Linked DNA regions of Homo sapiens: region 2 is linked to region 1. Evidence: promoter capture Hi-C in human tissues and cell types (Jung and others, 2019). All regions are on one chromosome and are shown on one strand. The core of a region is centred on a gene start or on the middle of the fragment in contact, and the rest is flanking DNA. Distances in the headings are between cores, read along the strand shown. Region 1 overlaps ARIH2 (ariadne RBR E3 ubiquitin protein ligase 2). Region 2 holds the start of SLC26A6 (solute carrier family 26 member 6).

Region 1 (4,926 bases), core at 1,111-3,610:
AGGCCGAGGCGGGCAGATCACTTGACGTCAGGAGTTTGAGACCAGCTAAGTTGTGGCCAACATGGTGAAACCCCGTCTCTAATAAAAATACAAGAATTAGCTGGGCGTAGTGGCGGGCGCCTGTAATCCCAGCTACTTGGGAAATCAGGAGGCTGAGGCAGGAGAATCGCTTGAACCCGGGAGGCAGAGGTTGCAGTGAGCCGAGATCGTGCCACTGCACTCCAGCCTGGGTGATAGAGCAAAACTCCATCTCAAAAAAATAAAAAATAAATACACACACACACACACACACACACACACGTCAGCTGTATGCATCTCCCAGCAGCCTTCTGTAAGAGACACTACTGGGATCCCCACATCAAGGTGGGGGTGACTGCCAGGCACAGTGGTTCATGCCTGTGGTCCCAGCTACTCAGGAGGCTGAGGCGGGAGAATTGCTTAGCCCAGGAGTTCAACACCACAGCCAGCCTGGCAACACAGCAAAACCCTGTCTCTTAAAAAAAAAAAAAAAAAAAAAAAAAAAAAAAAAAGTGCCGGGCGCAGTGGCTCACGTCTGTAACCCCAGCACTTTGGGAGGCAGAGGCAGGCGGATCACCTGAGGTCAGGAGTTCGAGACCAGCCTGGCCAACACGGTGAAACCCCGTCTCTACTAAAAATATAAAAATTAGCTGGGTGTTGTGGCGGGCGCCTGTAATCCCAGGTATTCGGGAGGCTGAGGCAGTAGAATTGCTTGAACCCAGGAGATGGAGGTTGCAGTGAGCCGACATGGTACCACTGCACTCCAGCCTCGGTGACAGAGTGAGACTCCGTCTCAAAAAAAAAAAAAGTAAAGGAGATAATTACACATATTAGGTTGATAGTACACAGAAGATTGGAGACTCTCTCTCTCAAAAATCTACTACAAACCTGATGAGATTCTGAGACCACTAATTAAGGGAAAATGTAGTGTCACTGCACCTCATCCAGTAATGGACACCAGGAAGGATCTACAGGAAAGCCAGATTCCCCAGAGTCCTCTGAGCAAAAGCAGCACAGAGATGGAGAAAAACAGTGAGAAAATGATACTCTAGAATAATATATTCTAAAAGGTAGTCTCAGCAAGGAGGCTACCTTCTCCCTGATTTGGGTCACAAGAGAGAACTGACTGAACCCCCATCTCAACTCCCCAGCAGTTTTCCAGAGGAAGCAGTGGCCACCTTGAGCCATCTTGGCCTCCTGGCAGGAGGGCCAAAACAAATCTTCTAAACAATATTAAGCCAGATTAAAGGTAAAAATCTGTCTGAGTACAAACAGCTGAGCTTTCTAAGGAACGAACTAGTATTCACACCATTAGTCTTTAATGCTTGAAAGAGCTCAACAATCCATTTAGAATCTATCACAGTCAACACTTTCATAACTGAGTCCTTCACCCCCTGTCCCCTTGTTACCCTTTATAATTTGTTCAATTGTGAAGAGAAAACCTTTCAGTAGAATCAAGAAGAGCTCTTGCTGGGCTGTTGTAATGAAGGAGCTAACAACCTGTTGGTAGTTAGGATTAAGTATTATCAAGACAACTTATAAAGAAAAGGCCAAATCTTTTCCAAAAGAAAAATGGATCCAGGGTAGTAAACAACCAATGTAAGCCAAAAAAAAAAAAAGACTAATGACTTAGAAGGAACACATGTGACCAATGTGGTGTTCAGAAGAAACTTGCAGTTCTATTAGATCAACATGTAACCAGAGGATTAAAAGTCCTATTTATTTATGAATGCTTTTTCTTTTTCGTTTCTGTTGAGATGGAGTGTCATTCTGTCGCCCAGGCTAGAGTACAGTGGCGCGACGCTGGCTCACTGCAACCTCTGCTTCTCGGGTTCAAGTGATTCTCCTGCCTCAGCCTCCCAAGTAGCTGGGATTACAGGCACTCAACACCACGCCCAGCTATTTTTGGTATTTTTACTAGAGATGGGATTTCACCATGTTGGCCAGGCTGGTCTCGAACTCCTGACCTCAAGTGATCATCCTGCCTCGGCCTCCCAAAGTGTGGGGATTATGGGCATGAGCCACCACACCCGGCACTATGAATGCTTTTTCTATTTCTAGAAACATTAACTGAGGAAAAAACTAGAAATTAAAAACTAGAAAGTTTCTTGTCCAAAAGGAGTCTCAAGATAATTACTGAGTAATCTGAGTCTCTAATCAGAGATAAAAAAGGTATCTATTGTTCCCTCCATATCAAGGGCCAAAAAGGGTACCATTCATTAGGTTACTGTTTCCAGCAAACCCATTCTCCAATTCATTTCCACTATTCCCCAGAGGAAATCTCATCCCTGTTTAAAGAGCAAACCCTAAGATGGTGGAATCTCTTTGACAGTCATTTTGTACATTCACAAAACCATGAGTAAAGAATACTTACAGGCTGGGTGTGGTGGCTCAAGCCTGTAATCTCAGCACTTTGGGATGCCAAGGTGGCAGGATTACTTGAATTCAGAAGTTTGAGACCAGCCTGGGCAAATAGTGAGATCCTATACGTAGAAAAAAACTTTTTTTTTTTTTTGAGACAGAGTCTCACTCTGTTGCTCCGACTGGAGTGCAGTAGTGCGATCCTGGCTCACTGCAAGCTCTGCCTCCCGGGTTCACGCCATTCTCCTGCCTCAGCCTCCTGAGTAGCTGGGACTACAGGTGCCCACCACGATGCCTTAGTAGAGACGGGGGTTTCACAGTGTTAGCCAGGATGGTCTCGATCTCCTGACCTTGTGATCCGCCTGCCTCGGCCTCCCAAAGTGCTCGGATTACAGGCGTGAGCCACCAAGCCCGGCCTTTTCTTTTTTTTGCGACAAAGTCTCGCTCCTGTCCCCACGCTGGAATGCAATGGCGCGATCTTGGTTCACTGCAACCTCCGCCTCCCAGGTTCAAGCGATTCTCCTGTCTCGGCCTCCCAAGTAGCGGTGATTACAGGCACCTGCCACCACTCCCGGCTAATTTTTGTATTTTAGTAGAGAGTGTTTCACCATGTTGGCCAGGCTGGTCTCAAACTCCAGACCTCAGGTGATCCACCCGCTTCGGCCTCCCAAAGTGCTGGGATTACAGGTGTGAGCCACCACGCCCAGCCAAAACATTTTTTTTTTAATTAGCTGGGCATGGTGGCATGTGCCTGTAGTCCCAGCTACTCAGGAGGCTAAGGTAGGAGGATCGCTTGAGCCCAGGAGGTAGAGGCTGCAGTGAGCCATGATCACGCCACTACGCTCCAGCCGGGGTGACTCAGCAAGACACTGTTTCAAGAAAATGAATAATGGCTGGGCGTGGTGGCTCACACCTGTAATCCCAGCACTTTGGGAGGCCAGGTGGGCGGATCATGAGATCAGGAGATCGAGACCATCCTGGCTGACACGGTGAAACCCCGTCTCTACTAAAAATACAAATAATTAGCCGGGCGTTGTGAGGCACCTGTAGTTCCAGCTACTCAGGAGGCTGAGGCAGGAGAATGGCGTGAACCCGGGAGGCGGAGCTTGCAGTGAGCCGAGGTCGCACCACTGCCCTCCAGCCTGGGAGACAGAGCGAGACTCCGTCTAAAATAAAAAATAAAAAAAAGAAAATGAATAATCATGTTTAATAACTATAATACTTTTCAAAGCTTATGGGGTCTAACTGCCAAAATCATAAATTAAAAATTCACAGATTATTCCTGATTTTAATTCAGTTTGGCTCATAATTTGATAAGATGTTGATTTCAATTGATGAATTTCAATCTACTCAGAATTGCTGGCCAGGCGCGGTGGCTTACACCTGTAATGCCAGCACTTTGGGAGGCCGAGGCGGGCAGGTCACCTGAGGTCGGGAGTTTGAGATCAGCCTGGCCAACATAGTGAAACCCTGTCTCTACTAAAAATATAAAAATTAGCCGGGCATAGTGGTGGGCACCTGTAATCCCAGCTACTTGGGAAGCTGAAGTATGAGAATCGGTTGAACTCGAGAAGCAGAGGTTGCAGTGAGCCAAGATCGCGCCACTGCACTCTAGCTTGGGTGACAAGAACGAGACTGCGTTTAAAAAAAAAAAAATTGCTGACAGTAGAAATACTAAGATATTCTTTCTTTATGCACATATACCAGGCAATATAAACTCCCTTGTTGCCAAATTCAAACATTTCTCATACCTTATCTTGCTGACAGAAATCAGACACTTAACTTCCTTCTGCCTTAATGACCCCCTCTTGATCTCTATGATGTCTTTTGCAGCACCTGTTCAGGTACTCTGTGCTCTTCCTCTTGTATCCCCATCTTGCCAGTGGGGGGCACCACATTCCCACTCCTCTCAAGGTAGGACTGTTGGCCTTTTCCTCCACGTCTCACTCTTCCTTAACCACTTTACCCTCTCCCATCATCACCACTCCAGTGTCCAATCTCTAGTTCTTCCTCTCCTCAGCACTCCCATCAGAAGGGCCTCACTCACATGGAAAGGCATCTTAATGTATATCCCTTCCACTCCATCATCCTCAGGATGAGCTTCCTGACACCCTTATGCAACAGTAATAATAACACAATTCTTGCAGATCCCTTAACTCTTGCCAGGATCAGTTCCTACCTTGTTTAAAACCCATCACTGCTCTCCAGTATTGACAGGACAAACTTTATATGCCTTAGTAGAAGAGAGTCTTCAGGACCCATCACCTAATTCCTCCCCACAGCAATTCACTGAATGATTCCAGAACCCCCATATGTTTCTCTTAACTGTCAGCTACCAATAATGCCCTTCTTTGTAGCATACATTTAGAAATTAAAGAACATACTTCTATAGAACCCCTGTGTCAAAGCAGGAATCAAAAGAGAAATTAGAAAATGTTTTGAACTGAATAACAAAAATACTACATAATTTGTGAGATGCAGCTAATATAATGCCTACACAAAAATTTAAAACTATAAATGTATATATTAAAAAAGGTCCAAAAATCA
Region 2 (4,926 bases), core at 1,544-4,043, 320 kb after region 1:
GATTTCCTCATGTGCCTCCAGAGTTCCCAGAAGTGAGGGTCACTCCTGAGGGGATGACGGCGTGGACGAGGAACAGCTGAGGGCGACAGAGGATCTAGGCTAACAGGAGAGACTCCAGGAGTGGGGGCAGATCCCAAGGCAGCCTCCTGCTCCCCAGTGGTGGGTGCCCCAGCTCTACCTGGTGTGGCAGGGCTGAGGCTCCATGTGCATCTGTGAGCATGCGTGTGACAGGTGCAGAGACGGGGGACTGGAGGGAGACTTTTATACGTTTTGTACCTTTGTAACCAGAGAGATGCTTATGTTATTTTTCAGCTTTTCTGTCTCCTGGGGGGTTTGAGGCTGGGCTGGGAGGGGGAGGGAGATAGAGGGAGAGATGCAGTTTGACCCCATTTGGGTCCTGAGCAAACCCTATGCTCATCTCTCTCTCCTTCCTGGGGTGGACTCAGATGGGTGGGACACATGCCTTCCTCCCCCTATTCCACCCCCAAGTTGATCTGAGTATCGTCAGGGGCCCAAAGTACAGAATTGTTCTTTGCTTTTTATTGAATGCTCCAAAGGCCAAACTTCTGGGGCTGGGGGTTGGTCTTGGAAACAGGGGTCCTCTGACTTCCTCATGGGGGCTTGCTCATACCGCCCCTCCTGGTGGATGTGTGTGTTTATTATGTGGAGTCCCTGCCACTTACTGCCTTATGACCTAGGACTGATGCTGTGGGGTGCTGGTGGAGCAGCTGATGTCGTGTTTACAGAGCAAGGCTTCCCTGTCTCCCACGGGGAGGGGCTCGGGCCTCTAGTCAGACATTCCTGCAGAGGGTCGGTGGAGGGGTCATTCACCTGCCCCTGCAGCAAGCAAAAGTTGTCTGTGGTGCCATTTGATTCCCTGACACTGCCCCCTGCTTGAATTGATTCCGAAGGGTAGGGTGGGAAGGTGAGCAAAGGGAGCAGAAACAAGGGAATTCAAGACCCAGAATGTAGGTGCCACTGCCTCCTATGTTTACAGGATCCTCCGTGGCCCTAGGCACCTGGGCTGCAGGAAGTGACTCCGTTCCACTCCTCCTTTATTCCCTTAAAAAGGGAAAAATGACTGTTACGACCCTGTTCACAAAACTCTTACTTTTGCTATTTTGTCTGCTGTCCAGAACTGAAGACTTTAAAATTTTGTTACTGTTTACAAGTCCAGATTCAAAAAATGTTTTTACTTTGTTTACAACTCAAAACTTTGAGTTTTACACTTTGTTTACAGTAGATAATTTTTTTTCCTTTGTTTCCAAGTGAAAGGTAGGGAAAGTGGGAGAGGGACTTGGAGGACCCACCTGTGAGGACCCTGACCTGGCCATCTTGAGGGGTTTTCTAACCCCCAGGTCTCCCAGGCCGAAGGTCAGCCTTGAGTCCCGTTTAACAGCAGATCCAGAAGACCTTGAGAGTAGGCGTCCTCTAACCACGGGGGAGAGTGGCTGTGCAGGGCTGGGGGGTGGTCTGTGCAGACACCTCCTCACCCACCACCCCATGCATACTCTTGGGAAGCAGCTTCCTGGGAGATTAGAAATTCTACTTCCCTGACTGGAGCTAAATCCCACCAGCCAGGACCCAAACTCTCCTTACCGAGAAGGACCCCAGCTCTTGAAGGGCTGAGTGGCCTGCTGGGGGTGGGAGGGTGTCTTTACTATGTCCTAGGTTTCGTAGATGCCCCTCTCTGGGGTTCCCCTCCTCCAGCCCAGCGGCCCTCTTTCCTGTCTGTGTAAATTGTTCCGTGAAGCCGCGCTCTGTTTTGGGAATAAACTTCTATAGAAAACAGTTGTTGCCTTTTCCTGTTGGGGGCTGGGGAGGTAGGATGGAAGCTGTGAATGATTCAAGCCAGACTGACCTTTGGGAGGAATCTGAGCCCCTCCCAAGAATATCCAGCTATTTTTAGCCCATTTCATGGCAGATCTCTTTCACCTTGAAATCTGGCCCCTCACTTTGTAATTGGGGCCTGATGTTGGAGCACAGGTGCTGAAAATAAGGTGCTAAGGAAAACCTCCCCGCTGGTCAAGGCAACGGCAACAGGACTTCCTAATTCTTCAGGGTCTGCAGCCCTGACCCGGCATTTTTTGCCCTCACCTGCGGTGAAACCAACCTGAGGAACTGCTCTTGCAGTTCCTGCCTTGCCCACCCAACAGCACTGACGCCCACCCAACAGCACTGACCCCCACCATTCTCCTCGGCGGCCCGCGCAGTAACCTTCTGGGAGCTACGTCCGGGCTGTGCTTAGTGCAGCGGAGGGGATCCTCCAACCATTTCTGGCCTGGGTGGCCAGAGTTAAAGGGGAGGACTTGGGGACCGTTGGCTCCGGGTCTCAAAGAGATGCGTAGTCGCAGAAAGCCTGCGGGTGGCGCTCTCAGCTGAAGGCAAGAGAGGCCCCACAGACCTGGATCCCCTACGAGTTAAGGCTGGGGTCACCGGCCAGTGGAGTTTCCTTTTCCCACTCCGTGAGCACCTTCCGCCGAGCCAGGACCTGGGATCAGCTCCAACCTACTCAGGGCCTGGGGGCGCGACTGCGGCCAGCCCGGCGCGGGTGCTTAGTTCCAGTTCTGCAGTCCCATCCAGCTCCGGGCAGAGGGCCGGGCGAGCAGCGAGAGGCCTCATAGGCCAGGTCGCCGGGGAGGAAGCGGTTAAATCCTCCTTCTCCAGTCTCTCCCCGCCCGGCGCGCGCCACTTAGGCCCCGCCCCAGCGCGCTGATTGGCCCAAGCCTCCCCGTCCTGCCCCGGGATTAGCCCCCGGGAGAGCGCAGCTGGCCTCACCCGGTCCCGGCGCCGCCTTCCGGAGCGTAGCGGCCTCTAGCTCGAGCAGCAGGAGCAGCCCGCACCGGACAACTTGCGAGCCATGGGGCTGGCGGATGCGTCGGGGTGAGTTCAGCGCACATTCCCGGTGGCCCCGCGCGAGCGCCTCGCTGGAGCAGGCATTCTCCGCTTGCGACGCCTCGCTGGAGCAGGCATTCTCCGCTTGCGACGCCTCGGTTTACCTCTGCTGATTTTCTGCAGGCGGCTGCCCCTCTGCAGCAAGGGGTGGGGGCGGGAGCCGGCGCGACCCCAGTCCCTTGGGCTGTGCGGAAAGCCGCTGGTGTGACGCCCGAGGGCCATCCCGGGCCACAGGGAGGCAGCTGCGTGCGGAGGAGCCCGGCCAGGAGATGTGCCGGCGGGGGTGCGTGGGGCACGGGAGTCCCTGGCAGCGGCCCGTGGACTAGCTGCTTTCAGCTGAGTCCCGAGTCCACCCAGCTCCACTGATCCCGGAGTGAGCGCTCCGGCCTTTCTGGCCCCAGTTGCCTTCCTACAGGGAGGGGCCAATGATCAAGGCTCCGCCCTCCAAACGCGGGTCCCAAGTTGTCGGGGGAGGGAGCCCTTTAAGAAGACCTGAGTGACTCACGTAGGAAAGGAGAGGGGGCTCTACGATCTCCTTGAGATAGCGGTCCCAAGAGTCTCTGAGGATCTTCCTTGCACCCACTCCACACTCCTCCAACAGTACAGCCAGGTTAGAGGCGCTTCCCAGGTGAGTTCCTGTCCCTCAAATGGGATCCTCTCCCCAGGTCAGGGCTTTTCCTAGATCAGAACTTTCCTGACTGGTGAAAGCTTCCCCAACAGGCTAGAGTTTTCCCCCAGGTAAGATCCTTCTGTGAGATCTATTCCCAGGTGACAGCTTTTCCCCATTCCACGTGGGAGCCTCGCCCGAGGTCAGAGCTTTCTCTATGGGAGAGTACCCCCCAGGTGAGAACCCTCTCCCTCTAGGTCTTTTCTTCCCATGTGAGATCTTTCTCTGACTTCAAGTAGGTGCCTCTGGGCAGAGGGAAGATTCCCCCTGTATCAGAACTTGCCAGGCTGATAAAGATTCCCTGGTAGGTCAGAGATCCCTCTAGGTGAGATTCCCCTTGAAAGCTTCTATTCCCAGGTGAGCTCTTTCCCCCACTTCAAGTGGGTACTTCCCTTTCCATGTGGGAGCCTCTCCCTCTAGGTGAGAGATTGCCACTCCAAGAGCAAGCTCCTTCTCAGGTGAGAGCCAGTCCTTGGCTTCCCCATAACAGGCCTGAGCCGTCTACAACCTGGACCCTGGGGCTGGAGGCCCAGGGGCAAGCTTGGCTCCAACACTTTCCTTCCCTTAGAGGGGAGGGTCTCATCTGAGGCCTGAGGCTTGGGAAAGGAGTTGCTTGAGGAGCTGGACCCCTGGTTTGCTGGACCCCTTCCCTGAGTGTGCTCTCAGCCAGCAGTGGGCTCCCGGGGCAGCTGGAGGAGGACCTGGGGACTGGAGAGGGACTGGGTGGGGGAGGGAGCAGCCTGGGACCTGGACTGGTAGAACACTCAGCACTGGGCTGCCACATCTCGGCTGGAGGTATAGCTAGTGCTCATCCTGCAGTCCCTACTTGGGGGACTTTGTCCTAGAAAGAGGCTTTCTCACCAGCCAAAGTTCAGGTACTGCCCCTGTCTGAGTTTGGACATGTGGCCCACAGATGCCAGCTGGGGGCTGGAATACTGTACCTTGATCTTAGGGCCTGGAAAAATCAGGTAGGTAACTCTCTGGTCCTAGGTGGAGGTGTAGGGGAGGTTGGGCCAGGGATGCCTTCACTGTGTCTCTCTGGTCTTGCCACCCCAGACCGAGGGACACACAGGCACTGCTGTCTGCAACACAAGCAATGGACCTGCGGAGGCGAGACTACCACATGGAACGGCCGCTGCTGAACCAGGAGCATTTGGAGGAGCTGGGGCGCTGGGGCTCAGCACCTAGGACCCACCAGTGGCGGACCTGGTTGCAGTAAGGCCAAGATTGGGGCCTGGGGGCGCTGGCGGGGCCCAGGTAGCCCCTGTTCCTGACACCTACCCCTCATATCATGTCCCTAGGTGCTCCCGTGCTCGGGCCTATGCCCTTCTGCTCCAACACCTCCCGGTTTTGGTCTGGTTACC

The links. The method cuts DNA at HindIII sites, captures the fragments that hold promoters and counts their contacts. A contact is called where the count stands out against the background at its distance.
Region 2: a contact is called between the fragment with the promoter of SLC26A6 here and a fragment that was not itself captured in region 1, in 1 of the 25 tissues and cell types used here (dorsolateral prefrontal cortex).

What each region holds. Positions count from the first base shown.
Region 1 is chr3:48,952,044-48,956,969 of GRCh38, reverse strand. All of the region lies in intron 3 of ARIH2 (ariadne RBR E3 ubiquitin protein ligase 2), which reads right to left. Among named protein-coding and RNA genes, the nearest start is that of ARIH2OS, 35 kb to the right of the region's middle. The HindIII fragment of the contact is 8,935 bases long and covers 1-4,926 here.
Region 2 is chr3:48,633,328-48,638,253 of GRCh38, reverse strand. SLC26A6 (solute carrier family 26 member 6) reads left to right here and starts at 2,793. Exons shown (of 21, transcript NM_022911.3): 1 at 2,793-2,883; 2 at 4,619-4,777; 3 at 4,864-4,926. The coding sequence starts at 2,861. It overlaps CELSR3 (cadherin EGF LAG seven-pass G-type receptor 3), which reads left to right. Exons shown (of 35, transcript NM_001407.3): 35 at 22-1,791. The coding sequence ends at 49. It overlaps MIR6824 (microRNA 6824), which reads left to right and starts at 4,556; the gene lies at 4,556-4,618. RefSeq lists silencers at 2,585-2,864, 3,255-3,354. The HindIII fragment of the contact is 9,287 bases long and covers 1-3,755 here.